Linked DNA regions of Homo sapiens: regions 1, 2, 3, 4, 6 and 7 are each linked to region 5. The links are contacts of gene promoters, found by promoter capture Hi-C in blood cells and fetal thymus (Javierre and others, 2016). All regions are on one chromosome and are shown on one strand. Each heading gives the region's core, a stretch centred on a gene start or on the middle of the fragment in contact. The rest is flanking DNA. Distances are from core to core; before and after follow the strand shown.

The links. The method cuts DNA at HindIII sites, captures the fragments that hold promoters and counts their contacts. A CHiCAGO score of 5 or more calls a contact.
Region 1: a contact is called between a fragment that was not itself captured here and the fragment with the promoter of GBP5 in region 5, in 2 of 17 cell types (activated CD4 T cells and total CD8 T cells). The highest score is 5.8, in activated CD4 T cells.
Region 2: a contact is called between a fragment that was not itself captured here and the fragment with the promoter of GBP5 in region 5, in 9 of 17 cell types (non-activated CD4 T cells, naive CD8 T cells, naive CD4 T cells and 6 more). The highest score is 19.3, in non-activated CD4 T cells.
Region 3: a contact is called between a fragment that was not itself captured here and the fragment with the promoter of GBP5 in region 5, in 2 of 17 cell types (activated CD4 T cells and total CD8 T cells). The highest score is 5.7, in activated CD4 T cells.
Region 4: a fragment that was not itself captured here is called in contact with the fragment with the promoter of GBP5 in region 5 in 7 of 17 cell types (activated CD4 T cells, non-activated CD4 T cells, naive CD4 T cells and 4 more); the score reaches 16.4 in activated CD4 T cells.
Region 6: a fragment that was not itself captured here is called in contact with the fragment with the promoter of GBP5 in region 5 in 8 of 17 cell types (total CD8 T cells, total CD4 T cells, naive CD8 T cells and 5 more); the score reaches 13.1 in total CD8 T cells.
Region 7: a fragment that was not itself captured here is called in contact with the fragment with the promoter of GBP5 in region 5 in 5 of 17 cell types (activated CD4 T cells, total CD8 T cells, naive CD8 T cells and 2 more); the score reaches 9.4 in activated CD4 T cells.

Annotation. Positions count from the first base shown.
Region 1 is chr1:89,426,183-89,428,901 of GRCh38, reverse strand. No RefSeq gene overlaps it. Among named protein-coding and RNA genes, the nearest start is that of GBP6, 63 kb to the right of the region's middle. The HindIII fragment of the contact is 865 bases long and covers 981-1,845 here.
Region 2 is chr1:89,026,771-89,029,550 of GRCh38, reverse strand. No RefSeq gene overlaps it. Among named protein-coding and RNA genes, the nearest start is that of GBP3, 5.3 kb to the right of the region's middle. The HindIII fragment of the contact is 5,231 bases long and covers 1-2,780 here.
Region 3 is chr1:89,462,131-89,464,830 of GRCh38, reverse strand. No RefSeq gene overlaps it. Among named protein-coding and RNA genes, the nearest start is that of LRRC8B, 61 kb to the left of the region's middle. The HindIII fragment of the contact is 6,077 bases long and covers 1-2,700 here.
Region 4 is chr1:89,088,167-89,090,866 of GRCh38, reverse strand. The region is part of intron 4 of LOC105378841 (a long non-coding RNA gene); the gene reads right to left. Among named protein-coding and RNA genes, the nearest start is that of GBP1, 24 kb to the right of the region's middle. The HindIII fragment of the contact is 2,856 bases long and covers 1-2,700 here.
Region 5 is chr1:89,271,537-89,274,425 of GRCh38, reverse strand. GBP5 (guanylate binding protein 5) reads left to right here and starts at 1,566. Exons shown (of 12, transcript NM_052942.5): 1 at 1,566-1,974. It also overlaps the pseudogene LOC100421401. The HindIII fragment of the contact is 6,725 bases long and covers 1-2,889 here.
Region 6 is chr1:89,047,426-89,050,439 of GRCh38, reverse strand. The region is part of intron 2 of LOC105378841 (a long non-coding RNA gene); the gene reads right to left. Among named protein-coding and RNA genes, the nearest start is that of GBP1, 16 kb to the left of the region's middle. The HindIII fragment of the contact is 7,509 bases long and covers 1-3,014 here.
Region 7 is chr1:89,444,447-89,447,249 of GRCh38, reverse strand. No RefSeq gene overlaps it. Among named protein-coding and RNA genes, the nearest start is that of LRRC8B, 79 kb to the left of the region's middle. The HindIII fragment of the contact is 2,084 bases long and covers 461-2,544 here.

The sequences.
Region 1 (2,719 bases), core at 164-2,663, 150 kb before region 5:
CCTTGTTTGGCTTTCCATTGCAATCAGGCAAACGGCCTGCATTGGTTTAGGTAACTGACACTCCCAAGACTCAAGGAGCTGCCGTGCAGCACTATTTTGAAAGCCCAGCCCCCATCAGACTGTATCTTGCTCTGGGGCGAACAGCCCCATCATCTCCACGTCCCTGGAACCCTGCGGACATCTCTTCATTTCCACCCAGAGGGCTGCAACTTTGTCCCGTGGGCTGAATCCAGTGGTGCAGTAAGGAACAGCAGTGCACCACACCAGGGAGGCTGCCCCCAGGACAAAGGGAGCCTAAATGCACACTCCTCAGTTTCTGAAAGCCACTTGCCTGGGGCCACTGCCACCAACAGCAACCCTCTCAACCTTCCACCGGAAGCAGGGCCACCAAGCATCTGCATGTGCCTCCAATGGTCCTGGAGCTGGTCTACCCAGACACTGTTCTGTGTCCTGAGGACAGGCTCTCACACCACCCACCATGCAAACATGCTGCCCAGGGCCTGGGGATCATGCTGCCTCAACTGTAGCTGTGGGCATGTGCATGCAACATCAGGAAGTCTGACAGCAGGCCCAGGTCACCTGCCACTGGGACCCAAGCATGCCATCCAGGGGCCTGGTGATTTCCTGGCCCCACTCACCATAGCCTGCACACTTGCACACCATTGGAGGGTCTAAGGGCAGGAAAGCAACATGCCTCCCTGGAGAGAGCTTGATTCTATTCTGGCATATGCTAGAGAAAAGTACTAAACCAAGTCAGATGCTTTGGAATGTGGTCTAAATATTAATGCTACCAAACTGGGGAGGAAGTAACTCAGTTTTGCTGATTTTTCATTTTCTTATGCTTTATTGGTTAACAAAGAAACCATTATTTGCTTTTGAAGGCAGAGTTATTATTTTCTACCATGAAGTTACTTCAACTCATAAAAATGTATTTTATTTACACCTTTGTAGCAATGGAGCTTGGAAGAAAATATAAAGCTTACCTACATGAACATTTCATCTAGTATTCTGTGGTCTCACCTGGTCTTCTATGAAGTTTCAGTTCAAGTGAGGAAACAGCACCATGCTCTATTATGAAAGGAGGCATTTGCCATGTGATTGGATCAGAGGTAGCTCAAGGTAATAAAAGGCCTCAAAGCAATTAGAAAAGACAGAATTATTAATGTGGATTTAATGGCATTAACTGCTTCCCTCCTTTTTTCTCACTGTGTTATTTTGAATAACCACATAGTTTTTTCAAGATTCTAATATATATAATCTAATCCATATGATTTTTGTACGTGTGAGTTACACAAGGCCGGTATATAAAACTTTGACCAATGTGTCTGTAAATCAGAGTTCTGCAAACTATGGCTTATGGGTGCCACCCTGTTATTGAAAATAAAAATTGATTGGAACATAGCCACACCTATTGGTTTATGTATTTTCTATGGCTGCATTTGCACTACATGCAGAGCTGAGTACTTGAGACAGACTGTATGACCTGCGAAGTCATAAATAGTTACTATCTGGTATTTTCAGAAAAGATTGCCAACCATTGCTATAAAGACTAAAACCTTCTTTTCTGACAAAAATAACTGCAAAAAGAAAACTTAATCAGAAATAAGAAGCCTAGTGAAATACATTGTATTTACAGTTCAGAAATAATTTTTAATTGCTATAAGAAACATCAACCACTTTCCTAGGACTTTTGACACATGAGATAAAGTCTATGTATACTAAGTAAACACAAGAACATTATTAAATGGGTCAAAAATGTCAAAAAACATCCGATATTCTCTTCTGGGGAAACTCAGCAAGATTTCAAGTATGAGTGTTAAGAATTAGAAAAGACTAGCATAAGCTTTAGCATTCTAAATAATAAGTAATTGAATTAATTCAATTCTGTTACACAGCATCTTTTAAAGTCAATCTTTGCAAATTATACATTGCCATAAATACAGTGTGTAATTGGCATTATGTGACTTTGTTTAATCCAGTGTCAACTGTCTAATGGTCTAAAGTGTCCCATTAAAGTTATAATCTGGATGAACTGAACAAGAAGAAAAGTTTTCTTCTTTAGCCCATTTGTTTATCACTCAATTCCTGCTCCTGCTCATGGTTTCTTCCACCTACCTCTGGAGAACATAAAGGGATTCTAGATCTCTGTATAAGGTGGTTTGCTTTAGCTTGAAATCATCAGTGAGGACAATACATGGGCAATGTCCACAAATCACATTATTGCTCATAGACTGTGTAGCCCTGATCTAATGGATAACTGTACATTGTCTTCACTAAGAAGCCAGGGTGGTTGTCCTTGATATTGGGACATTGTAGACTTGGCCAGACCAATGCCCAAATATTTCCCAAGACTTTTACCTAAGACTCTGCTCAGTACCCATTTGTCTACTGCTGGTCATCTGGAAGAATAAACTCCTGGGTGGTACCAGCTCATGAACCTTCCTGAGTTGGTACAGAGGTAAATGCATCTTTTTTGCACAATTTACAGTCTTTTTTTTTTTGGAAAAAACATGATTTTGATCATTGTACTGCATGCCTTTATAAATTTTGGTGTTATGATGCAAGATCTAATTATTATCAAATGTAGTGTCGCTTGTTCCAAATTCTAAAATTGTTTCAATTATGCCTTGGGTAGGGGTGACAGGAAGGCTCTGGTCTTTAGTTTATGGTACATGTCCTTGGTTGTATCATTGTCCTCTGGAGATTCTGTATCTCATTT
Region 2 (2,780 bases), core at 13-2,512, 240 kb after region 5:
CCAAAATTGACAAATGGGATCTAATTAAACTAAAGAGCTTCTGCACAGCAGAAGAAACTTCCATCAGAGTGAACAGGCAACCTACAGAATGGGAGACCATTTTTGCAATCTACCCATCTGACAAATGGCTAATACCCAGAATCTACAAAGAACTTAAACAAATTTACAAGAAAAAAACAAACAACCACATCAAAAAGTGGGCAAAGGATATGTCTTATTTTGAGAGAAGTCTCAAAAGAAGACATTTTTGCAGCCGACACATGAAAAAATGCTCATCATCACTAGTCATCAGAGAAATGCAAATCAAAACCACAATGAGATACCATCTCACACCAGTTAGAAAGGCGTTCACTAAAAAGTCAGGAAACAGCAGTTGCTGGAGAGGATTGGAGAAATAGGAATGCTTTTACACTGTTGGTGGGAGTGTAAACTAGATAAACCATTGTGGAAGACAGTATGGTGATTCCTCAAGGATCTAGAACTAGAAATACCATTTGACCCAGCCATCCCCTTACTGGGTATATACCTAAAGGATTATAAATCATGCTACTATAAAGACACATGCACATATGTGTTTATTGCGGCACTATTCACAATAGCAAAGACTTGGAACCAACCAAAATGTCCATCTATGATAGACTGGATTATGAAAATGTGGCACATATACACCATGGAATACTTTGCAGCCATAAAAAAGGATGAGTTCATGTCCTTTGCAGGGATATGGATGAAGCTGGAAACCATCATTCTAAGCAAACTATCACAAGGACAGAAAATCTAACACTGCATTTTCTCACTCATAGGTGGGAATTGAACAGTGAGAACACTGGGACATGGGGTGGGGAACATTACACACCAGGGCCTGTCGTGGGGTGGGGGGCAGGGGGAGGGAAAGCATTAGGAGAAACACCTAATGTAAATGACAAGTTAATGGGTGCAGCAAACCAACATGGCACATGTATACCTATGTAACAAACCTGCACATTGTGCACATGTACCCTCTAACTTAAAGTATAATTTAAAAAGTGCATGCAATCCTTTATCTTTACTTTTCATAATAGCTATATTGTCATATGATATAGTTATACTACTGTCCACAAATACTGTCCAATAGAATGTTGCAAACATCCAGAACGAGTATATTCCACTTTCTCACAGAAAGATTGTTTTCAGGTGGCAAGAAATGAAAACATTTACAAACTTTCAGGGTTTTCTATAATACCTTCAACTCATAATAATCGTTAATTGATTAGTATTTGTCCAATCTCATGAAAAACTTACAATACTGGACTAGTATTTGGGGGTCTGGTTTTTTTCCAAATATTTTTATATTTTTTGTTTTGATTAATTCATTCTACTCTATTTTGAATACAGATGACACATTTGTCTTTTTTTGATTTTGGCTTTTTTCCAGATAGTCATGTAAAAATGAATCAAATTCAGCAAATAGTTTCATGATTCTCATGAAATATCCATTATTCCAGGAATGTCACTTTCAATCATAACCTCATGTAGACCAAGCCTCAATTAAAATACAATAATTGCCACTATTCATTCAAAATGATAACAAATGTTCTTCAACACTTTGGTAAGTGCTTTTATTTGATTTACATTGAATTAAAAAAACTCAAGCCTTCATATGCTCCGTGGAGTCTTTAACATATTTTGAGAGTTCTTCTATATTCACTCAGTTGGAAAACCATGCCTTGTAAATAAATCTGTTCTTGTAAATATTATTTACCAACTAAACACCATATGCAGACTTTTAGTTCTGGGATATGCCAACCAAGATCTCATAATAGTTTGAACATTTTAAAATTTGTGAATAGTGTTTATTATCTCAGGGACAAATGCACGAGTAGGTAGTCCCAACACCGAGTGCTCCAGTCCCTCACCTTAAAGAGCTTCAAGAATGACACCAAAGGATTCCACCAATCCTGAATCAACCTTCTATCATTTCCCAGTAAAGTAGATGGGCAGAGAAATTCAGATATTAACTACTAATATTTGCTTCTTAAGGACACATATCCATGTTACACTTGCAAGAACAGGTCTAAAGAGTCTGTTACATATTGTTTTCCCTCCAAGAAGGAGACACAGAATTCCAGCTGTTAACTATGCAGCCATAAAAAGGAACGAGATCATGTCCTTTGCAGGGTCATGGATGGAGATGGAAGTTGGAAGCCATTATCCTCAGCAAACTAACACAGAAACACAAAACCAAACACCCTGTGTTCTCACTTATAAGTGGGAGCTGAATAATGAGAACACATGGACACATGGTGAGGAACATACACACTGGGGCCTGTTGGGGTGGGATTTTGGGAAGGGACAGCATTACGAAGAGTAGCTAAGGTATGCTGGGCTTAATACCTAGGTGATGGGATGATCTGTGCAGCAAACCACCATGGCACACATTTACCTGTGTAACAAACCTGCACATCCTGCACATGTACCCCTGAACTTAAGAGTTGAAGTATAAAAAAATAAATAAATAAAAAACTAGAAAAAAAGTCTATGGCCTAAGAAGGACTTTACACAAATATACTGTGGCTCTGTAAAATAATTTCTCTTTTTTAAGAAACACACACTGAAGTTTTTAGGTATAAAAAGCCATTATGTCTGTCACTAACCCTTGAATAGTTCAGACAGAAAGAAAATAAATTTAAAATGATAACATATGGGGAACTGAGGGGAAGACTGTACAGAAACTTTGTACTATTTTGCCACTTTTCTGAAGTCTAAAATTATATCAAAATAAAACTTCATAGGACATTATA
Region 3 (2,700 bases), core at 101-2,600, 190 kb before region 5:
GCTATTACTTCAGAGACTTATACTTGTTGACAGCTATGTGTAGTGGAAAGAGCCTAGCACTGAGGCGGTCAAGAGATCTGGATTCTAGTTCTGGATTTGGCATTACTTAGCTATTGTTCGCTGTTGGAAATGTAACTACTACTCCTATGACAGCTTGAAATATCTTGAAGTGAATCTGAATGATTTCTAAGTGTATTAGTTTCCTGTTGCCACTGTAACAAATTACCACAAATTTAGTGGTTTAAAGAACACAATATAAACTCTTACAATTCTGGAGGGTGGTCAGAAGTCCAAAATGGGTCTCATGGGGCTAAAATCAAGGCATTGGATTCTTCTGGAGTCTCTAGGGAAAAATCAGTTTCCTCGCCGTTTTCAGCCCTTAGAGGCCCCTGCACTCCTTGGTCATGGCCCCTTCCTGGGATCACTTCCACCTTTTGCTTCCATCATCATCATGTCTCCTACTCCTCTCTGACTTCTCCAATGTCTTTCGTGTAAATACCCTTTTGACTTTATTGTGCTTCCTTGAGTAATGTAGGAGAAGCCCCTCATCTCAAGATCCTTGACTGGATCACACCTGCAAAGTTTCTTTTACCATACAAGGAAACATTCAGAGGTTTTTGAGGTCAGGATGTGGGCACATCTAAGGGGCATCATTCAGCCTACCAAAGAAACCACAGTGGTCAATGATGGATGATTGGGGAATGCGGTCAGAAAGAATGAACTTATTTTTGGTACCTTCACTTATTTCTTGAATATATGAACAGATAGCAGATAATATAGTGTATGAGATTCAGAGTCATGTAGACCTGCATTAAAACCCCAGCTATACCACTTACTAGCTGTTTGACCTTAGGCAAAAAATATAATTTCTCTGAGTTTCTGCTTCTTCATCTGTAAAATGGGAATAATAATATGAGTTCTATATGTCTGTGCGTGTTTTTGTGTGAGGATTAAAATAACATATGTGAAGCGATTAGTACAATAACTAGTACAGATCAAGGTCTCAGTAAATGAGGCTATCACAACTGAAGCTGAGCCTTGCTTCTAACTCAGTGTACTTCTCAATATTTATCTGTGCAAGGGACCAGTTTTGTTTACTGTTACCTTAATTTTAATATTTTTATCTTTCCCCTCCAGTTATCATTCCCATTTCTTCCCCTGCCTTTTCAATAAGTCCTGTTTAACACACTTGCTATGTGTCTTTGAATGTACATATTTTATATAAAATCATATAGCATTATTTTATACGTGTGTGTTTCTAATTAAATGGGATGTAAAATACATTTAATGTTTCTTATTTTTTTCCACTCACTTTTGTGTTGTTCAAGATTTGTCCATCCAGCATGTTAGTTTTCCTCTCTGGCTATGGTCATCTAGGGTGCTTCAGTATCCCCTGCCATAGATGCCTATGCATTTACATGTCCCTGTAGAGAAGTTGGAAAGAGTTGCTCTGGGATATACATTCAGCAGTTGGAAGAAGGCTTATGGTACAAGTATTGCCAGATTGCTCTCTAGAAAGACTATACCATTTCTTCTTCTACCAGAAGAACAAATGTTCTTGTTTAGCATTGGTTTGCTGACATTTAGTGTTTTCTGACTCTGATTTTTTTTTTTTTTACAGGTGATAGTTACAAAGTGGTATCAGATTTATTTTTTAATTTTTTAACACTAGTAGGGTTGAGCACTATATATTTACTAGTTTTCAGGTTTTTCCATCCTATGGATACAAATAGTATGCATAATTTATATGGATATAAATTATTTGCTCATTATTGGCTTAACTAGCTTTTTGTTTTAGTTGCTTGTTAATTTGTTGGTATGTCTTGAATGTTCTAGATATTACTTCTTTATTGGGTTAATACATTTAAAATTTCTTGTTGAAACCTCTCAGGCTTTTGCTAACTTTATCACATATATATGTGTATATATATATTATAATGTTATATATTCTACATATACCCAGATGTAGATATTACATCAATTTTAGGTGCTGTAACTAGCTTTGCCAAGTCATCTGTATTTTATGGATTTGAGGGTTCCCTTAATGAAAAGAAATTCAACGATTTTCCCTCTATGATGTGTAATTGTTTTGGAGTCTTCTTAAAAAGATCTTTCCCACCCAAGATAAAAAAGATTCTTTCCTATATGGTCTCATTTGGCCTTTCTGAAAAGTAACCAGTTGCAGAAGATGCTCAATTATGTGAAATTAGTAAATATAGAAGAAGCATCAGTTGATTACTGTAGCAGTTCAACACTAAGGAATATGATGGTTGGTTTGGTTAAATTTTACTTAAAGTGATTCAACTTAAACTTGGGGGGAAAAAATCTTAGGTCAACAATTAGTCGGTACTTAGTCTCTGCCAGGTGTGGACTGAACTATCCAAAGCATGCTGGAGTTGGAAAGAGCCAATGGGAGAAATGAGGCAAGGGTCACGCTGAGTTCAGCCCAGAATTTGGGGCATGCTCTACAAAACCGTGCTGCCTAGGGCTGGCCACAGAGTCACTGGGGGCAAAAGGACTAACAAAACTGTAAAAGTGTGTGTTGGGGTAACAGCCATTTTGAAAATGTTTTAATGGTGATAAGAATGCATGTGTCAACCATGGATTAAGAGAATGATAACACTTTGCAGCAGATTTTAGACACACACTGCTTGCTTATGGCGAAATTCCTAGAAAGTTACCTGTGGAGCTTAATAACTT
Region 4 (2,700 bases), core at 137-2,636, 180 kb after region 5:
TCCCTAAAGTCAACGGAGATGTCTCATATCTTTTATCCATTAAGAATCTTTTTAAATTATCCACTACCAAACTTTATGATAATTGTCAGTAACCAATTCACCATCAATTTTAGACATATACAATGTGACAAGATATGAAGTAAAACTCTTCTCCCAGGACTCATAACCTGCCTTTGAAGGTAAACGCTGAAGGGTGCCCTAAATTTCTTTTATAAAAAATAATATTATTGGAATATTCACACAAAGTTACTACTTTAAAGACAAAAAAATTAGCGTGGTCTATAAATTATGTAGGTTTGTTAAAATAAATATTGCTGCTGTAGAAAGAAGATAGGATCACTAGTGCAAACAAGGGTGAGAAAGAACAGTGGAGAAAGAAGGAGAGAAATCTGCATTCAAAAACCAATTCTACAACCTACTAGTTGCCTCACCTCAGAAAGTTACATACCTTTTAAGCGTCATTCTTCTCATATATTTGTTGTGAGAATGATGAAGAAAGATATGAAAAACACTTATTATAACTAGGTTCTTTTACCTTAATACTGAAATAAACAGACTCTTAATACAGAAAAAAAAAAGTGTCCGTTGTATAGAAATGGCCTTAGGATTGAACAGAAAGACAAGAAACATCTGTCCTAAAGCAAGATGCTATCAGCTTGAATTCCTTTGAACTCTCCATTCCAGTCACAGCTGGGATGAGAGGAGACATTGAGAGGATGAGTCAGTGTATCAGATGCATCTGACACAGTTCACCCCTTCAGCACTCTGATCACTGTGCCTGCCCTACATTAAATTCAGTCTGTTACCAAGTCCTCAAGTTCATAACCAGCTACAGTTCTACAAAAAACTTAATACACAGGAGTTGGTGGCACATACCACAGTTTGCTCCTGCAACTTCAATCAAAGGCAGAATTGACGTTCATCCTATCCCTCCCCTACCACTTATTTTATATTTCCTTCCCTTTGTCATCACAAGTAGACATTTCATTTAAACTATTTTTAACAACATTAATCTTATTTCTTCTAACTATATTTTTGTACCCATATTTCAAAAAACTAAAAGAGTGGAATTGGAATATTCCGAACACAAAGAAATGATAAATGCTTGAGGTGAAGGATATCCCAATTATCCTGATTTGATCATTGCATATTTTATTTTTGTATCAAAATATCACATGTAACCCATAAATGCATACAACTATTATGTATCCATAAAGAATAAAAATTAAGAAAATGCACATTGATCTGTGTGCATAATACACTCTTCTTCATGATGAATCCAAAAAGAAAATATAACTTGAAAATACCTTAGTATTTAACATTTTCAGTACTATGAGGTCAGCTTATTCCCTTATAAAAGAGAATAAGATCCATATAGCACATTCTGTTTATTTAGTGATGTTTTTAAAGAGTGCACACATCTTTAATCCTTACTTTTCATAATAGCTATATTATCATAGCACAGAGTCAGACTAATCCCACAAATCCTGTTCAATGGCATGTTACAATCAACTAGAATTTGTTTCATTTGTTGAATATAGTCAGATAAATAATTTGAGTTAGAAAAAATATTTCAAGATTTTTTGTAATAGTGTTAGCTTGTAAGAATCAAGGATCAGTATTTATCCAATCTGGTATAAAATCTAATAAGGAAGTAGTTTTTAGAACCTGCTTTATTTATTTAACATTTCACTTTCTATGTGCCTATTTCTATTTCAATTAAGTCTTCATAATTTATTTTGGATACAATTGTCATATTTATTTTCACACACTGCCATTTTTCCAAGTACTCATGAGAGAATGGATCAAATTCAGCAAACGGTTTGATGATTCTCATAAGATTTTTATTATTTAAAGAGTGCCAGTTGAGGGGAGGGACCAAGATGGCCGAATAGGAACAGCACCGGTCTGCAGCACCGTGAAACCCACGCAGAAGGCAAGTGATTTCTGCATTTCCAACTGAGGTACCCAGTTCATCTCATTGGGACGGTTAAGCAGTGGGTTCAACCAACTGAGGGCGAACAGAAGCAGGGTGGGGCGTTGCTTCACCCAGGAAGTGCAAGAAGCCGGGGACCTCCCACCCGCAGCCAAGGGAACTATGCAAACAGGAGGGAACTGATAACCCATGGACACATTTATTAACATTCCTTCCTCCTCTGGGTGAGAGGCCCACAAGTATCTGTAGGCTCAGGCATCCAAACACTATTATTAACATAAACCTCAACCGGAGGTTCCAACCATGTGACAGCCCTACTCAAATATAGTATGGATTATCAGTTAAACGAGCTGTTTAATTTGTTACAACAAACTGTAAGAAAAAGAAATTTCCCATTTTGTATTACTCATATTCGAGCACACCCTAATTTACCATGGCCTTTGGCTAAAGCAAATGAACAAGCTGACTTGCTAGTATCATCTGCATTCATGGAAGCACAAGAACTTCATGCCTTGACTCATGTAAATGCAGCAGGATTAAAAATAAATTTGATATCACATGGAAACAGCCAAAAAATATTGTACAAGATTGCACCCGGTGTCAGATTCTACACCTGCCCACTCAGGAGGCAGGAGTTAATCCCAGAGGTCTAAGTCCTAATGTGTTATGGCAAATGGATGTCACGCATGTACCTTCATTTGGAAAATTGTCATTTGTCCATGTGACAGTTGATACTTATTCACATTTCATATGGGCAACCTGCC
Region 5 (2,889 bases), core at 317-2,816:
TGTATTCAAATTGTCTCCTTTTTCGAGCAGGGAAAATGGGGTGGGAAGAACAAAAACCCCAGGACTGAGTGAAGAAAATAAATGAGAAATCACCACAGTGAAAGTAAAAGACGAGAGTTCGAACTCAGCAAGTTCTCATCGAAGCAGCTTTCTTTTTTCTTTTCTTTTCTTTTTTTTTTTTTTTTTGAGACAGAGTCTCGCTCTGTCACCCAGGCTGAAGTGCAGTGGTGCAGTCTCGGCTCACTGCAAGCTCCGCCTCCCAGGTTCAAGCCATTCTCCTGCCTCAGCCTCCCGAGTAGCTGGGACCACAGGCGCCCGCCACCATGCCCAGGTAATTTTTTGTATATTTTTAGTAGAGACGGGGTTTCATCGTGTTAGCCAGGATGGTCTAGATCTCCTGACCTCGTCATCCACCCGCCTCGGCCACCCAACATGCTGGGATTACAGGCGTGAGCCACCGTGCCCAGTCCCTCATGGAAGCAGTTTTCTTACTAGCTCTAAAATACCTCTTCTCCCGATTTTATAATCAAGGTAATGAGAGGTGACGGCGTGCTGGCAGCCCTTGCAGCCCTCCCTCGCTCTCGGTGCCTCCTCTGCCTGGGCACCCACTCTGGCGGCACTTGAGGAGCCCTTCAGCCCTCCGCTGCACTGTGGGAGCCCCTTCCTGGGCTGGCCGAGGCCGGAGCTGGCTCCCTCAGCTTGCTGGGAGGTGTGGAGGGAGAGGCAGGGGTGGGAACTGGGGCTGCGCCCGGTGCTTGAGGGCCAGCGCGAGTTCTGGGTGGGCTTGGGCTCTGAGGGACCTGCACTCGGAGCGGCCCCAGGCAGTGAGGGGCTTAGCACCTGGGCCAGCAGCTGCTGTGCTCCACTTCTTGCAGGGCCTTAGCTGCCTCCCGGTGGGGCAGGGCTGGGGACCTGCAGCCTGCCATGCCTGAGCCTCCTCCCCTCTCCCGCTCCCCACCTCACCCCGCCATGGGTTCCTGTGCTGCCTGAGCCTCCCCAACCTGTGCTGACCCCTGCTCCACAGCACCCTGTCCCATCCATGGCCCAAGGACCGAGGAGTGCCAGTGCATGGAGCAGGACTGGCAGGCAGCTCCACCTGCCGCCCGGTGCAAGATCCACTGGGTGAAGCCAGCTGGGCTCTTGAGTCTAGTGGGAACTTGGAGAATCTTTATGTCTAGCTAAGGGATTGTAAATACACCAATCAGCACTCTGTATCTATTTAATCTGGTGGGGACTTGGAGAATCTTTATGTCTAGCTAAGGGATTGTAAATGCACCAATCAGCACTCTGTATCTACCTCAAGGTTTGTAAATGCACCAATCAGCACTCTGTATCTAGCTCAAGGTTTGTAAATAGGCCAATCCACACTCTGTATCTAGCTAATCTAGTGGGGACATGAAGAACTTTTGTGTCCAGCTCAGGGATTGTAAACACACCAATCAGCACCCTGTCAAAACAGACCAATCAGCTCTCTGTAAAATGGACCAATCGGCTCTCTGTAAAATGGACCCATCAGCAGGATGTGGGTGGGGCCAGATAAGAGAAGTAGCCAGCAGTGGCAACCCACTGAGGTCACCCTCCAGGCTGTGGAACCTTTGTTCTTTCACTCTTTGCAATAAATCTTGCTGCTGCTCACTCTTTGGGTCCACACTGCCTTTATGAGCTGTAACACTCACTGGGAATGTCTGCAGCTTCACTCCTGAAGCCAGCGAGACCACGAACCCACCAGGAGGAACAAACAACTCCAGACGCGCAGCCTTAAGAGCTGTAACACTCACCGCGAAGGTCTGCAGCTTCACTCCTGAGCCAGCCAGACCACGAACCCACCAGAAGGAAGAAACTCCAAACACATCCGAACATCAGAAGGAGCAAACTCCTGACACGCCACCTTTAAGAACCGTGACACTCAACGCTAGGGTCCGCGGCTTCATTCTTGAAGTCAGTGAGACCAAGAACCCACCAATTCCGGACACGGTAAGACTGGGGCAAGAGGTGGAAGAGATTTGCAAGATTCATTTGGTTTTAGAAACATTCTACAAAGGATAGGATGCAGCTTATCCTGATGTGGTATATCAGACCTCAGTAAAGAATAAATTGTATTCTTATCAGACAGGCAGCAGAATTCATCAAGTACCAGCTGTGTCTGCCTCTTGCTGAATTAGACATCAATGTGTGTGGTGACTAAACTAAGAGTTTGAAATGCCTTCAAATTATTTTTCTTCCTTTGCAATTTTATGACTTATTCAGGATCATAATTTCCACTTAAGTTACCTTCGTCCTTCATAAAATCTGATTAAACTGACTCGAACTTCAGCATGAAAGTTTCAAAAACTATGATAGCTATTATTTTCATGAGAAAGAACAATGAATATGATGCAATGTAAGTAGCTTGCAAACATTAAGGACAAGAAAAAAATGTTGCCCAGAGAGAAGTTTCATGAAAACAGTGATGTATTTTTAGTCATAGTCTTGTACTTTGTTTGAAAGTAGATTTCTTCCTTTAGCAATAGCCCTGACTTAATTCATGTTGGTTTCTTGGCATCTACTCACTTAACTAACCCCTTTTGTGTTGGGTTCTGCTTCTACTACTCTATTGCCTTTACTATTATGAATCACCTAATTTAACAGTTGCCCAACTGGATCCCTCAATACTGTCTGGCAACTGTTCACTCGTTGAAATTCTCTCCTTTGAATTTCTTACCATGACACATACTTCAAGCATTTTGTACTAGTTTGATTTCCATTTATATCCTTAATAAGAGCCTTTTCCTTTTCCTTGAAATTCAAACCAGAAACTATGCAAAATAAGCAAAAGCAAGCAATAACAACTACATATACAAATGCAGGCGCAAAACCCAAACTAGAATCATATGGCTGAAAACAGATGTT
Region 6 (3,014 bases), core at 415-2,914, 220 kb after region 5:
AGTCTTGGGAGTGTCAGTTACCTAAAGCAATGCAGGCCGTTTGCCTGATTGCAATGGAAAGCCAAACAAGGAAGCACAAGGGTTTTGTAGAGGGAAAGGTTTATTTTTATTCAACTAGGAAGGAGATGGGGGAAAGCATATCTAAAAATTTGTCTCTCAGATCTGGGGGTTGGGGCAGGTTTTATAGACAGAGGGTAATGAGGTAAGATCTGACTGCATCGTGCCATGAGGTGATGTCAGGGCTGGATCTGATCAGATCACAGATTAAGCCCTGAGGTGTCTCCTTCTTAAATCAGCCCTGCTCCTTGGTCCAAGTACTTAGGTTCCACCGTGGTTGCATGCAGAGTGTGTCTGGGCATGCTCAGGTAACATAACTTGAAACCAGGAGACCGTGGCAACAGTAAAACAACGCATTATTTTATTACACAAACTTGAACCACATTGGGCTGGTTCTGCATTTTCAAATCCCCCTTTTTTCATTGTTCATTTCTCAATCTTGAGGGAGAATGGGTGACAGACACTCTGGCACTTCCTGCTGATTAGGGCACAGACCTTGGTTAGAGGTATAAAATTATTTAGCACGGTGTTGTACGACTTCCCTGATATCAGGGTTATGTTTCAAAAGGAGTTGTTTGATTCAATTTTAGGAAAATGCATAAAGTGTTAGCAACTTAAACATTATTTCTTCCAGAGAACAGAAAGAATGCTCAGGTTTAATAGCCAAAGTTCCCACGCAGGTTCCCAATCAGGTCTGTTCATTCAATTGAGAATTAAAACTCCAAACTCACTTAGTTCTGATTGGTCAACCCAGCTGAGTTCTAATGGGTCAATACAGCTGAGCCCTGATTAGCAGAGGCAGGTGGGCTGAAAAGCCCCAAAATAATAAGGTATGTGTTTTGGGTGAACTCAGAACATGTGTGTGTCCCCTCGTTAGCAAATGGTCCCTTGGCTCAACTTGAAATGCAGGCCCAGTTAGCCACTCAGGATGCATCTTGAAAGACTGGCTCAAACTTGTTGGCAGACAGCACTGCATTCCATCACGGCATGGAAGTGATTAGCTACGTGCTTCAGGTTTATCTGGTCTCTTCTAGGGATCCTGGTGGCAGAGCAGTGGCCAATTGAGCAACTAGAGCCATTTACTTACAAAAGGCACTCAGGTACCTGTTAGATTCTAATCAAAGTCTCGTAGGTTATGTTGATTCTGGTTCCTGTCTGGAGTAAATTTAAAATTTCCTGGGTTAGGTCAGCATGATCCAAGCCTCTTGCAGATATCTGTTAAAACAGGCTAGAAGAGCTGGGCGCAGTGGCTCACACCTGTAATCTCAGCACACTGGGAGGCCGAAGTGGGCGGATCACCTGAGGTCAGGAGTTTGAGACCAGCCTGAGCAACATGAAGAAAATGCATCTCTACTAAAAATACAAAACTAGCCGGGTGTGGTGGTGCGTGCCTGTAATCCCAGCTACTCGGGAGGCTGAGGCAGGAGAATCGCTTGAACCAAGGAGGTGGAGGTTGCAGTGAGCCGAGATCCCACCATTGCACTCCAGCCTGGGCAACAAGTGTGAAACTCCATCTCCAAACAAAACAAAACAAACAAACAAAAAAAACAGGCTAGAACAATTCAAAAGAGTACCCAAATGATTAGCCCAAATAGAAGGATCATTAAGATCTGTAGGATGGAACACAGAAGGTATCCTAGACTAGAGACAAAAGCCAGCTGAAAATATCTGGAAATTGTAAATTCAAGCCAGGAAGTCCAGCCAGGAGGCTTTTTGAAGGTGTCCCATTCAGAGATTTAGCTAACTTTAGGATCTTAGATGTGTCCAATTCAATCTAACTAGATGTATTTACCCAGGTGCAGCAGCAAATGTTAGCAACAGCACAAACATCACCCTGTACAGCAAGAAGACAGTCAAAAACAATGTAGTTGTCTAGGACCACATGAGCAAGGGAGTTTGGGACTTCTGCTGTGCTCTGATGGTTTGGCCAGTGGAGCAGTCATTCTATTAACAGTACAAGATTTCTGACCATATTCTCATTCCAAGCAGGGCATAGTCCAAACTCGGACCCCAGTAACCTTCCTGATCTAGCTGCTTCACTAGAGTTAATCCTTCTGGGTAAATCACATCTTTGGTAATATCCCCAGCTATAATCTAAGAGATTATCATTGGTGTTCAGTTGTGTCTCCAAGACTCTCAGGTAGCTCTTTGGGTAGCAGTGGTGAGACTAGCTGAATAGATTAAAAATTGGGTTATTCATTTCTGTAGCCAAATCTCCTGGTGAGGATAACTTAAGTACTATTTTTGCCTTTTGGGAGAAGGAAATATGGGCCTGATAGGTTTCTAAGAAGTCTCTTCAGGCTGAAGTGCTTCGTCACTATTTCTTTATCCCACCAAATATTCCCTTATCAGACCTTGAAACCCCATCTCTCCCACATCCTGTTTGTCCTATATTCTTAAAATTCCCACATGAAACACCTTCTTTCCGTGATGATTGATGGTGTGTTGTTTCCATGACCTAATCCAGACTGATTCACCAACATTTTTTATAAGAATAAAATTCTAATACAGAATGATTCCAACATTCCCGAAAGTGTTCACTGTTCTGTGCCCCTACACTTTTCCCACAGTATGAGTACTGGGTAAAAACAGATGAGTGATTTGACTAGAAGATGGTGTCTATAAAGCCATGGTCTGATGACATTGATTTAGATCATTTTTATTCTATACAGATACACAATGCTATGTAACTTCTTCGTATATTCTCTCATCCTGAAAATATGTTTTATAAATATGTATGAAATTTCAAAACAGGCCTGGCATGGTGCCTCATGCCTATAATGCCAGCACTTTGGGAGGCCAAGGCAGGTGGATCGCTTGAATCTAGGAGTTTGAGACCAGCCTGGGAAACATGGCGAGACCCCATCTCTACAGAAAAAAATAAAAATAAATAAAAAAAATTAGTCAGAGGTTGTTGTGCACACCTGTGTTCCCATCTACTCAAGAGGCTTAGGCAG
Region 7 (2,803 bases), core at 253-2,752, 170 kb before region 5:
GAGAGTGGAAAGTAAAGATGGCTTCATTTTGCATCTTCAATACCAGGTCAGCACAATAGGATAGGACACAAGCAGAGTCTTGACCCCTATATTTCAGGCCCTAGCTCCCATACTACGTTTCTAGATATACCCTGGACTAGAAGGGAAACTGCTTCCCTGAAGAGTATGACCCAGTCCTGGCAGGATTCATCACCTGCTGACTAAAGAGCCCTTGGGACCTCAATAACCAAGGGTGATACTCAGGTAGTATGTTATGGGCCTTGGATAAGACTGGAGATGTCCTGGTTTTAGGTGAGACATAGCATATTCCCAGCTGTGGTGGCTATGGTGAAAGACTCCTGCTTGAGAAAAGCAGGGGGAAAAGCAAAGAGGACTTTGTCTTGTACCTGAAGTACAGCTTGACCCCAGTGAGGCAGAGCACCTAGTGGGCTGTTGGGATCCCTGAGTCCAGGCCTAAGCTTTTGGACAGTATTTCTGGACCTGCCCTAGACCAGATGGGAGCCCATTGCACTGAAGGGTGATTCTCAGGCCTGGCATTCACTACAAGCTGACTGAATAGCCCTTGGACTTTAAGTGAATATTGGCAGTGGCCTGGAAGAACTCCCCATGGGCTGGTAGTGGTGGTGGCTATTGAGAGAGGCTCCTTTGCCTATGGAAAGGGAGGGAATAGTGGGAGGGATTTTGTCTTATGGGTTGAAGGCTAGCTTAGCCTCAGTAGAATAGAACACCAGGTGAATTTCTAAGATTTCTGATCCTAATCCCTGGCTCCCAGACAGCATCTCTGGACCCACCCAGGACCTGAGGGAACTTGTTGCCCTGAAAGGAAGAACAGAAATCAGACTGGCTTCACCACCTATTGACTGTAGAGCCCTAGGCCCTTAAGTGAACATAGATAGTCGCCAGGTAGTGGTTACAGTGGACCTTGGTCAAGACTCAGTGCTATTCTGGCTTCAGATCTGACTCAGTGCAATCCCTGTGGTGGTAGCTACGGTGGTAGTTGTGTCACCTCACCCCTAGCTCCAGGTGGCTCAGCACAGAGAAAGACATACTCCATTTGTTTGGGTGAAAGTAAGGGGAAAGAACAAGATTATATTCCTGGCAATCCAGATAGTTCTTCTGGATCTAATCCATGACCATCAAGATGGTACCTTGGAGTATTAAAAAATCACAGCATTATTGGGGCTGAGGCCCAAATTCCTTTGAGTACCGGAAAAGCCTTCCAAAGAAATATGGGCACAAATAAGCCCAGACTGTGAAGACTAAAATAAGTACCTAACTCTTCAAAGCCCAGACACTGACAAACATCCACAAGCATCAAGACCATCTAGGAAAACATGCCTCACCAAATGAACTATATAAGGCGCCAGGGACGAATCCTGGAGAAAGAGTTATATGACTGTGGAGACAGAGAATAAAAAATAACTGTTTTGAGAAAACTCAAATAAATTCAAGTTAACACAGAGAAGGAGTTCAGAATTCTATCAGATAAATTTAACAAAGAGGTTGAAATAATTAAAGGGGATCTAGCAGAAATTCTAGAGTTGAAGAAAAATGCAATTGATATACTGAAGAATGTATCAGAATCTCTTAATAGCAGAACTGATCAAACAGAAGAATGAGTGAGCTTGAAGACATATTATTTGAAAATACACAGCCAGAGGAGACACAGGAAAAAATAATGCCAAAGAATGAAGCATGCTTACTAAATCTAGAAAATAGCTTCAAAGAGGCACATCTGAGTTATTGGCCTTAAAGAGGAGGTAGAGAAAGAGATAGGAGTAGAAAGTTTATTTAAAGGGATAATATTTAAGAACTTTCCAAACCTAGAGAAAAATATCAAATTCAAGTACAAGAAGATTATAGAACACCAAGAAGATTTAGTCCAAACAATACTACCTCAAGGTACTTAATAATCAAACTCCCAAAGGACAAAGATAAAGAAAGAATCCTAAAAGAAGCAAGAGAAAAGAAACAATGTACAGTAGAGCTCCAATACCTCAGTCAGCAGACTTTTCAGTGGAAATCTTTTCATTGGAAATCTTGTAGGCTAAGAGAGAGTGGCATGACATATTTAAAGTGCTGAGGGAAAAAAAATACTTTTACCCAAATTAGTATCTCCAGTAAAAATATCCTTCAAGCATGAAGGAGAAATACAAACTTTCCCAAAGAAACAAAAGCTGAGAGATTTCACCAACATCAGACCTGTCCTACAAGAAATGCTAAAGGGAGTTCTTCAATCTGAAAGAAAAGGATGTTATTGAGCAATAAGAAATTGTCTGATGTTACAAAACTCACTAGTAATATGAGGTATACAGAAAAACACAGGATATTACCAATAAAAAATAAGAACTACAACAATTATTCAAGACATAGATAGTATACTAAGACATTAAGAGAAACAACAAAAGTTACAAAGTGGGGAGATAAAGTGTAGAGTTTTTATTAGTTTTCTTTTTGCTTCTTTGTTTATGCAATTAGTGTTAAGTAGTCATCAATTTAAAATAATGGGTTATAAGCTAGTACTAGCAAGCCTTATAGTAAGCTTAAATCAAAAAAATATACAATGGATACACAAAAAGTAAAGAACAAGAAATTAAATTGTACCATCAGAGAAAATCAATTTCAGTAAAAGGAAGACAGTAATAATCTAAGGAAGAAAAGAAAAGACTACAAAACAACCAGAAAAAAATAACAAAATGCAGGAGTAGGTCCTTACTTATTAGTAACATTGAATGTAAATGGACTAAACTATCCAATCAAAAGAAAGAGTGCCTGAATGGATTTAAAAAAAAAAAAAAAAAAG